Regions from separate parts of the Homo sapiens genome. Here all the other regions are linked to region 1. The links are contacts of gene promoters, found by promoter capture Hi-C in blood cells and fetal thymus (Javierre and others, 2016). All regions are on one chromosome and are shown on one strand. Each heading gives the region's core, a stretch centred on a gene start or on the middle of the fragment in contact. The rest is flanking DNA. Distances are from core to core; before and after follow the strand shown.

What was found. The method cuts DNA at HindIII sites, captures the fragments that hold promoters and counts their contacts. A CHiCAGO score of 5 or more calls a contact.
Region 2: a contact is called between a fragment that was not itself captured here and the fragment with the promoter of CCDC66 in region 1, in 1 of 17 cell types (monocytes). The highest score is 5.8, in monocytes.
Region 3: a contact is called between a fragment that was not itself captured here and the fragment with the promoter of CCDC66 in region 1, in 2 of 17 cell types (total CD8 T cells and activated CD4 T cells). The highest score is 7.4, in total CD8 T cells.

Annotation. Positions count from the first base shown.
Region 1 is chr3:56,555,836-56,559,271 of GRCh38, forward strand. CCDC66 (coiled-coil domain containing 66) reads left to right here and starts at 1,340. Exons shown (of 18, transcript NM_001141947.3): 1 at 1,340-1,418; 2 at 3,011-3,075. The coding sequence starts at 1,408. RefSeq lists enhancers at 783-1,455, 1,456-2,127, 1,596-1,755. The HindIII fragment of the contact is 1,896 bases long and covers 1,126-3,021 here.
Region 2 is chr3:57,096,219-57,099,627 of GRCh38, forward strand. It overlaps IL17RD (interleukin 17 receptor D), which reads right to left. Exons shown (of 13, transcript NM_017563.5): 12 at 1,378-2,320; 13 at 1-287. The coding sequence ends at 175. Among named protein-coding and RNA genes, the nearest start is that of SPATA12, 37 kb to the left of the region's middle. RefSeq lists an enhancer at 998-2,197. The HindIII fragment of the contact is 3,437 bases long and covers 1-3,074 here.
Region 3 is chr3:57,221,814-57,224,870 of GRCh38, forward strand. It overlaps a transcript of HESX1 not described here. Among named protein-coding and RNA genes, the nearest start is that of APPL1, 4.4 kb to the right of the region's middle. The HindIII fragment of the contact is 253 bases long and covers 1,153-1,405 here.

The sequences.
Region 1 (3,436 bases), core at 90-2,589:
AGAATTACCATGTGACCCAGTAATTCCACTCTTAGGTGTATACCAAGAAAATTGAAAATAGGGATTCAAACAGATACTTGTACATCAGTGTTCACTACAGCATTATTCACAATAACTAAAAGATGGAAACAACCCAAATGTCTATTAATGGATGAATGAGTAAACGAATTGTGGTATATATATACATAGAATGGAATACTATTCAATCATAAACAGATATGAAGCTCTGATACATCCTACAACATGGATGCACCTTGAATACATTATGTTACTTGAGAGAAGACACAAAAGGACAAATATTGTATGATTCCACTTTTATGACATGAAGTATCTATAATAGGCAAATTCCTAGAGACAGAAATAAGATTAGAGGTTTCTTAGGATTGAGGGGAGAGGAAAATGGGAAGTTGTTGCTTAATGGGTACAGAATTTTTATTTGGGGGTACTAAAAAGCTTTTGGAAAAATATACTGGCGTATTCCACAACATTGTATCATGGAATTGTCACTTGAAAATGGCTAAAAATAGCAAATTTTAACACACATATTACAACAATAAAAAATAAAAAAGTAAAGGTTTGTCAGGCATTTAATAATTAATACCTTTCATTGTTTTTGTCTGGAAAGAGTGTGTGCAAAGATACTTAACAACCAAATGTAATGTGTGATCCTTGATCGGCTCTTGCATTTTTTTTTTTTTTTTTTGAGACGGAGTCTCACTCTGTCGCCCAAGCTGCTGGAATGCAGTGGCGCGATTGGCTCTTGCTTTCTAAATAAAATGCCTATAAGATATTCTTAGGACAAGTGGGGGAAATTAAATCGGGAAGAGAATTATTATGAAATTAATGATCTTAGGTATAATAATTGTACTGCGGTTATGTAGCAGAACATCTATTCTTAGGAGATACATGCTGCAATGTTAAAGGGTTAAGTGTTACAATGTCTGCAATGTTAAAGGGTTAAGTGTTACAATGTCTGTAACTTACTTGCAAATGGTGACCCCAAAAAGGTGTGTGTGTGTGTGTGTGTGTGTGTGTGTGTGTGTGTGTGTGTGTGTGTGTGTGTGTGTGTCTGTGTACGCGCTTTGGAAGGCTACAATTGCGAGAAGCGCAGGTCTCCGCCACCGAAGCTTTAGACTCATAAGCCGGGTCAGGCCAAATTCCGCTGTGCGTAGGGGAACAAACGGCACAAACGGGGCACAAAAGGGGAACAAACGGCATACGCAACCGTCCCCGCGGGAGCCCCGGCCCAGCTCAGCGCACCCGCCAGCATGCCCCACCCTGATTGGTCCACTTGCTCAGCTCGCCGGCACCCCTATATCCAATTGGCGTAGCGCTTGCTGAGCGGCGGCGGCAACCGACGTACACAAGGGGCTTGAGCGTTCTGTGGAGAGAGTGCGAGGTCAGGCCATGAACTTGGGGTAAGCAGGGGTAAGCTGGGGTAAGCTGGGGTAAGCAAGGTGGTCGTCAGCGGAGAGGGAGGCATGTGTGTCTGGGTTGTCCCTTGGAGTCTTTACTGGAGAACGTTCCCAACCTGCGCCGCCGAGAGGGGCAGAGCCCAGTTCTCGGGTAGAAGATCGAGGCAGATGGGTCGGCCCTTAGCGACTCCACAGACCTTACGTTTTCACTTAATGACTAGCATTAAAACTGCCAGTGATCCCCTTTCGGTCCCTTATTTACCTCAGGATGAGGAGGGAAGAGAGGTGAGGAGGAAAGGAGAGAAATGACGAGACAGTTAGAGGAAGCGTGGCGGCTCCTGGGGAGGACTCCTGGCCCATGCCCCGGGTTCTTCGCCACCTTGTTTTTGGAGTCTTGCAGAATGTTGAAACGCCCAAATTCGTTTTAGGCCCACGAGGCGGGGAACCAGGCTTCTCAAGAAATCGATGTAGTACCAGTGCCTAACACCTAGTAGGCGCTCCTTAAGTAGGGGTGAATAAATAAAAAGGGCTGGTGCATGGTCTTCATCACTCGCAAGTTTGATATTTTGAGAAGATGAGAAGCCACCAAACTCAGACCTAACTACACATCGTTCAGCAAATGTTATTATGTTTTAGAATCTGGGGATATGGAAATAAATAAGATAGTGTGTCCCTTAAGGAGATTACAGTGCAGTGCGTCATTGAAGGTACTTTACCATTGAAGCTCTTTTCTTTCTTGGTGACGTTTCACCAACATAAACACGAACTGTTCATAACCCTACAATAAGGAAAGCCGTAAAACCTATTCTTTCCAGTGTTTTACCTTTAATAGTTAAGGTGAGGTAATTTGATTTCCCCTACCTGAGCAACACCGCAAATTTCGCATTCCTAATCAGACCTTTCCCAGCCTCTCTCTCCCTTGACTGGCTTGCTGGATTTAATTTTCTCTCTCTGAATTATGGACTGTATGTATGGGCTGCCATTTTTGTTCTCAGTGGAGTTTTAGGACCTTAACAGACGTTCAAGTTTTGTTGGCAGTGGCTACTGTTACTTTATGCCTTTGCTTCTGATATGCACGTATAAAGCACCATACTAAATATCACTATGTATTATTTGAAATATTGAAAGTGGTACTCTTTGCTCAAGCAGTTACTAACCTTGATGGCATTGTTAGTAGTCATATCGATGCTCCAGCACTCCATAGAATGTTTTAGTCATGAGTTCATTATGAAACTAATGAATGGCGGTTAAATATATCTTGTTCCTTTAACTTATGTGAGGAGTTTTGGTAACAGCATTATTAAAAAATGGTGGTATGATAACTTAATTTATAGTTTACCAATAACAAAATGAGATTTCAGGTTAATGATAACAATGCTTGTAGTATTGAAGAGTTTCAAGAATTTTCCCCCTGTAGTTGTGGGTTTTATCTTGGATTGCAAACGTTTTTAATTAAAACACTGGTTCGATGTGTACAAGATTCCTGCATAAATTCAAAATAATGGATTTATTGTCAGGTTCAAATGAACATTTCTGGTTATTTAAAATGTTGCGGTTTGTTAAAAATGAGAGACAACTTTCTTTTTTTATTACAGAGATGGTTTAAAGCTTGAAACTGAATTACTGGATGGAAAAACCAAGCTAATATTGTCTCCATATGGTATGTTGTGTTACAGAAATCTGAAATGTTAACTTTTAAATTCATACATAAAATTTATATTAGTTCAACAGACTTTTTGCTTGTAATAGAGTGATATTTAAATGATATTTTAGAAAAAGCTGTTTCCTCAAACTTCTGCAGATTTCCTTCTAGCCAAATAAAATCAGATTACAACACTGCTTACTACTGTCAGTATTCAGACTCATAACATTTAATGTTCCAGTATATTGCGTGTTCATTATATCCATATAGCAAATATCCTCATTGCCTGATGAATAATACAAGTAAAATTTATGTAATTATGTTCTTTGCATGTAAAGAATGTATCATTTGAGAAAAGTTTATAGTAAGACCACCGTAA
Region 2 (3,409 bases), core at 106-2,605, 540 kb after region 1:
CAAGATATCCGGTAAAGGGTTGGGGCAAGGGAGAACAAGTACTGGCCAGCATTTCACTCCAAATATCCTTGTATGAGACCTCAGCTCCAAGTGGGCCATGCAACCAGGGAGATGAGCTGGGGAATCAGAGGGAGGCAGCAGCTAAAGTGGCAATGCTTAGACTCTTTCGTTTTGTTACAAAGGGGCGACCGCGTGGAGTTCATCAGTGTAGCTGCGGCAACCAAGATCTGCTTTGCATGACCCAGAAGAGAGGAGCTTGGAAGGAAGGGCAGGAGGTTCCTCCTCACCTAAGGAGAGAAGAGAGTACAGAGTCACACTGTCATTGCATTTCACTGGGCTGGGCAGGTGCTCATGGCAGAATGTGACTGGATCTGGGTTTGGACTATGGGCTCTGTATAAACGAGGCAAGAATCCCAACCAACTCAAGATGGGGCACTCTCATCCTCCTAACAGGTTCTAGTTCCCTTAGTTGAGGAAGGAAGAGATATTTCTTAAAAGTCAAGCGTTTAGGCCGGGCGCAGTGGCTCACGCCTGTAATCCCAGCACTTTGGGAGGCCGAGGTTGAGGGATCACTTGAGGTCAGGAGTTTGAGACCAGCCTGGCCAACATGGTGAAACCCAATCTCTACTAAAGATACAAAAATTTAGCTGGGCATGGTGGCGCATGCTTGTAATCCCAGCTATTCGGGAGGCTGGGCAGAAGAATCGCTTGAACCCAGGAGGCAGAGGTTGCAGTGAGCTGAGATCATGCCATTGCAGCCTGGGCGACAGGGTGAGACTCCATCTCAAAAAAAAAAAAAAAAAGTCAAGGGTTTGTATGCATGACTCCAACTAGTTACAGACATGGTAAGGGACAGCCTGAGATGGCATCTACCTGATGCTCCCTGCAGAAGTAGGCCTTCCTAGAGAGCCCTCATACCTGGGACCCTATGCTGAAGGATAGAAAGAATACTGTACCCATGAATCCCAGACTCAATGAATGTAGCTTTAAAGACAATGGGGGCGGGGGGTGTGAACATTACAGGTCTAAAAAAGACGCATCCACAAACTGTTACCCAAGACCCTTGGGGCCCAATGTGTTTTCGTGTCTGATGTTTTTGGAGTTTAGAAAAGTGATACAGTGCATAGTCTGTATGTGGCACAACACCCCTTGCAGGGTCTGGGCAGCTCACTATAATTTAGCATTAGTATTTCTGCAACTCAAACATGTGAGTACTCCCATCACCTGGTATAAATCAAGACTACCAAACGAGCTGTGTTCTCATCAGGTTTCATTGCCCAATAAGTTGGCACCAAAAGTGGAAAAACGCTTTGACTGATTTCAGAAGCATGGTCAAAGGCTGCGGCCTGTTAGGACCCGGCCCCAAAGGCACCTTACCCAGGCCTGAAGAGGAGGACACGCTCTCCGTCAGGGAAGACGTTTCTGTCTGGTCCGTCGAGAGTCCTTCCATCAGTGGCAGAGACAGCTCGGATGAGGGCACAGACGAGTCATAGATGCCTGAGTCCCGCGGCATGTCCGAGGGGCTGCCGGCTTTCACCGTGTGCAGCAGGGGTTGCAGGGCGGCGCTACCGTCAAGGGCAGGCCGGGCCTCCCCGTCTTGGTCCAGGCCCCCATGCTGACTCTCGTGCTGGGAGTCGGCTGGTCCGGTTGCCCCAAGAACAGCCGCCTCTACCTTTAGGCAGAAGTCACTCTCAGGCCCTGGTTTGCACATGACATCATTTAAAACCAAGCCCGAATCAAATTTCTCCAAGACTGGCTCCCGGTAGCGCAGTGGAGGAGGATGGAAGGGAACGAACTGCTTTTCGAACCAGTCGGGCTCCTCGTCAATAAACTGGTGCATGTTGCAAATGGCGACGTATAGGGACCGGCCTGACTTGCTCCGGAAGTAGTTCCTTCTGCTGCCCTGTCGCGTGTGCTGCCCCGGCTCCTGGAGGCCGTGGTCTCGGGAGTGCAAGTGGGAACAGAGCTGAGGAAGATTGTCCATGAGTCTGTACTTGGTACTCAGGTCTAGGATACCGGGGACGTCTCCCTCGCAGGAATAATCAAAGTAGACGGCGATAAACTTGCTGAGCGCCGCGGACGAACTCTGCTTGGCCTGGCGGAGCTTTTCGGCAATGGCTGACACCGCCACCAGGAAGAGCTCTCCTTTCCCCGAGCCTCGGCCACCTCCTTTGTGTTTGTAGTTCTTCTTGTCCACAAAGTACTTCATACCTTTGGAACAAACCACAATGATGAACTGGGACTCGTGGATCTTCTGGATGACCCATTCTCTCTGCCCTTCTCTACAGAGGCTGAAGTCTTCCCACAGGTCCAGAGCCACCTGGAAAGAGAACAAGGCACCTCACCCATACAGAAGGCTCGGGAAGAGGCTCGGGAAGTGAGTAACAGGAAGGGAAATGTCAGAAGGAGGCCATCTCATCTGCCCCTTAACCCTTATTAGCACAGCTATGTGCAGGCTCCAGGTTACACCATACCAAGGAACAGCTAAAGTTCCGTGGGTGATGGTCACACCCTAGTCCCTCTGCAAAAACTTGCCATCCATCCATTTTTGTATCACATGGAGTCATTACCACTCCTGCCCTACAAGTGAGGGGACAGAAGCGCAGTGCTTTTGGCACCTTGCCCAAGTCACACCCTACATAGGATATCCTCAAGGAAGCAACAGGTGGTAGAGAGCACAGGACAGAGAAACTGAGGTTGGTTGATCTGGTGAGTGAGGTGCCTAGATTGGAGGGGCAGATTCTGGAGAGAAGGCTGGCAGGCTCTGAGAGGAGGATGTGGATGAGTGACTCCAAAGTGAGCTGGGAGATGGGGCTCAGGCCTGGATGCCAGTCACCCACAATTATAGGTGACTCACATCCAGACAGTGACTGACAAAGGGGACCTATCTCGACACTCTCATAGCCTCAGGCTCACCTATGTTGTTTACTAGTTGGTCCATGGCTGGAGAGGAGGCTAGTGAACTGCATTAACATGGTCATTCTGAGTAACTCACTCAGGACTGGCTAGCACCTTCCTCTATGGCTTCACACAGGTATACAAGGCTACATCTCTACAAGGCTGGTAATTGACAAAGCTTTACCCCCAAAGGCGGTCTGGTAGAGAGACTGTGGGCGTGGCTGACAAAGGAGAGAAAAATCAGACATGTGTGGCCCCTTAGAGGACTTCACCTTCTCAGACCACTTTTACCTAATTCTACCAGAAACATCTCTTGGTTATTGTGTTGATGTCTTTCCTTCTGTAGTTATTAATTCCCAATGGCTATGACGAAACACAGCAGCCACACTATCTTACAGGGAAGGGCATTCTGAAACGACTTTGTTCTCCTCTTCTGCTCTAAGATGTTACCAATGGGGAAAAAGCCCCAACATCCATCCACTTGCTGAAAATAACCCTGAATTGTCTTATA
Region 3 (3,057 bases), core at 29-2,528, 670 kb after region 1:
CAAGGCTGGTCTTGAACTCCTGATCTCGTGATCCACCCGCCTTGGCCTCCCAAAGTGCTGGGATTATAGGCATGAGCCACTGCTCCCGGCCAATATGCTATACTTCTAATACTACTTACTATGTTTATTTTTTATTGTCTTTCTCCCCACCATATCTACTAACCTGTAGCTCCACAATGACAGATATTTTTGTTTTGTTCATTATTTAATAAATATTTGTTGAATGAAGACAGCTGTTCCCTGAGGTAGTCTGAATCCTAAATAATTGGTGCCATCTAGTGTTCTTGGAAGCACGTGTGAATTATCCCTGAGAGTCTTATTTGTATTAGCCATTGGATAAATAGTACTGGTATAATCAATTCTGCTACTCTGTTTTTCACTGCCCTCTATGGCTCTGAAAATATTAAAATGTTTTCAATGATTAAACAGGCACAGGACATATTAATTTCCCTAAAAGCATTTTTTTGAGACAGGGTCTCGCTATCACCAGGCTGGAGTACAGCGGCAAGATCACGGCTCACTGCAGCCTTGACCTCCTGGGCTTAAGCAATCCTCCCACCTCAGCCTCCCGAGTAACTGGGACTACAGGCATGTGCCACCACACCTGGCTAATTTTTAAATTTTTTGTAGAGACACGGTCTCACTATGTTGCACAGGTTAGTCTCAAATTCCTGGGCTCAAGCGATCCTCCCACCTCAGCCTCCCAAAATTTTGGGATTACAGCTGTGAGCCACCGCCCCCAGCCTATGAGCAATTTTTTCCCCAATGATTTGACTGTTCCTTCCAGAATTCCCATGTGGGGTAAGTGTCATGAAAATCTTTTAACTTTGGGGCACCTCTACCCACTCACCACCCGCCAAACAAAAAACAAAACAAAAAACAAAACAAAAACTCCTAAAAACCTCAAAATGGCAATAATCTTGGCTATTTTGGTAATTGTTTTGGTACACTTTTCCTCCAGAATTTCAAAGTACATATTTATTGATTTTGAAATTTTGGTTTTGGCCTCAAAAGCCCCCAAATCAAAGTGATAAAACATTAGCAAGAGTAACTAATGTTATTTAAAATAGCATCAGGATTCTCTAAGGTAATGAGCCCAATCTTCTGATTTAAAAAATATTAGTTTTTAAAAAAATATGATAGAGACAAAAAAGCTTCCTTAAATGTATTAAAATATTTTAATATTTAATAGTTGATAATGAAAAAGATAATTTTTACTGAATGCTTATTGCGCTAGGAGCTACTCTAAAAGCTCATTAATCATCTTAACAATACTATTAATGTAAGTTCTCTAGTATTAAGCTCCATTTTTCAGATGGCAGAATGGAGAAACAGAGAAGTTAAATAACCTTACTTAAGTCACAGAGCTACTAAACAGTGGAGCCAGAATTTAAATCACAGCCCAAGCTTATTAGCTCATAACCATGTTCTCATCTACCTCTCCACAGAAGGGCTATGATGCTATTTTGTGTTAAAGTTCTTGGCCTGCTCAGACAAATTAATTAATGTGTTCTTCTAAAAAGGAATCAAGGCAACCATAGATAAACAAAAGCATATACAATTTTCCTAGAAGTTTTTTTTTTTCTTTTTACCATCAAGAAAGTTGAAGCTGCAGAATTGTCCCACATTCTAAGGATGCTGTGGCAATGAGTAAAAGTGACATCAAGGTCAAGGTCAAAGGCAGAAGCTAGTTTGCAGTGGCACAATGAAGAACCAACCAGTTGGTCCTTAGTGCCCTCCCACCTCTTTTTGCAACCCATTCCTCAGAACTTTTTGTTTTACCCTCCAATTGTCCAAAGCTTCCCCCTACTCTGCTACTGGCTCTAATGTTTTAAAATAGATTAAATGACTGAAGTTCCCAAATTATCAATTTTCTTGAAATCTGCTCTTTCCTGAATCTGCTTTATCTCAGCTGGTATTAAGAAAATAATGAATTATCTGTTAAAGTTAGTCCTATTAAGGAGTGATTTACTAGGTAACAACCAGAATTTTTTGCATTATACATTACACTCTTTAAAAGGAGTATGAATTTCCCAGAATTTTAGATTGATGGAGTCTTTTAGAGAATATTTGTGAGTAGGTGGTTTCCAGCTCGTTAGCCTGGAAATCATGTCCTCACCATCCTTAGCTGGAATCTAGGATTCCTTTTCTAAATGTTTGCTTGACTCTTTATTTTTTGTTAATTTTTGTTTTAATTTAGACTGAGTCTCGCTTTGTCACCCAGGTTGGAGTGCAGTGGTGTGATTTCGGCTCACTGCAACCTCCGCCTCCCAAGTTCAAGCGATTCTCCTGCCTCAGCCTCCCGAGTAGCTGGGATAATAGGAACCTGCCACCACATCCAGCTAATTTTTGCAGAGACGGGGTTTCACTATGTTGCCCAGCCTGGTCTTGAACTCTTGACCTCAGGTGATCCACCCGCCTCGGCCTCCCGAAGTGCTGGGATTACAGGCATGAGCCACTGCACCAGGCCAATTTTTTAAAATTTTAATTTAATTTAATTTTTTTTTGTAGAGATGGTGTCTCTGTGTTGCCCAGGCTAGTCTCAAACTCCAGAGCTTAAGCAATCCTTCCACCTTGACCTCCCAAAGTGCTAGGATTACAAGCATGAGCTACTGTGCCCACCTGACTCTTTAAAAATTTTTTTTAAATACAAAGTGATTTAGGAAAGGGAAATGATCATTCTCCATCTTGGATAGAGTTTTTCCTCATGTGGTTTGTGGATTACCCACTTCAGACTTAACTGGAGAGATTCCCAGCCCTGACTCTGACCTACTACACCAAAATCTTCCAGCAGGGCTCAGGAATCTGTATGCTAACAACCTTCCCAGATAACTTTTATGTGTGCATTAAGTTTGGAAACCACTGACCTAAAGGGATAATTTTTAAAAGTAAAGCACCAGCATCACTTGGGTTATTGGATTCTTTCCTATTACAGATCACAGACCAGAACTTCAAGGAGTATCATGTAAAAACCTAATTATAAGACCAAATATAATTTTAGGAGACTAATAATTAACAACTCTATTTACAAGACTGTACGTCCTTTTGTTGTAAATT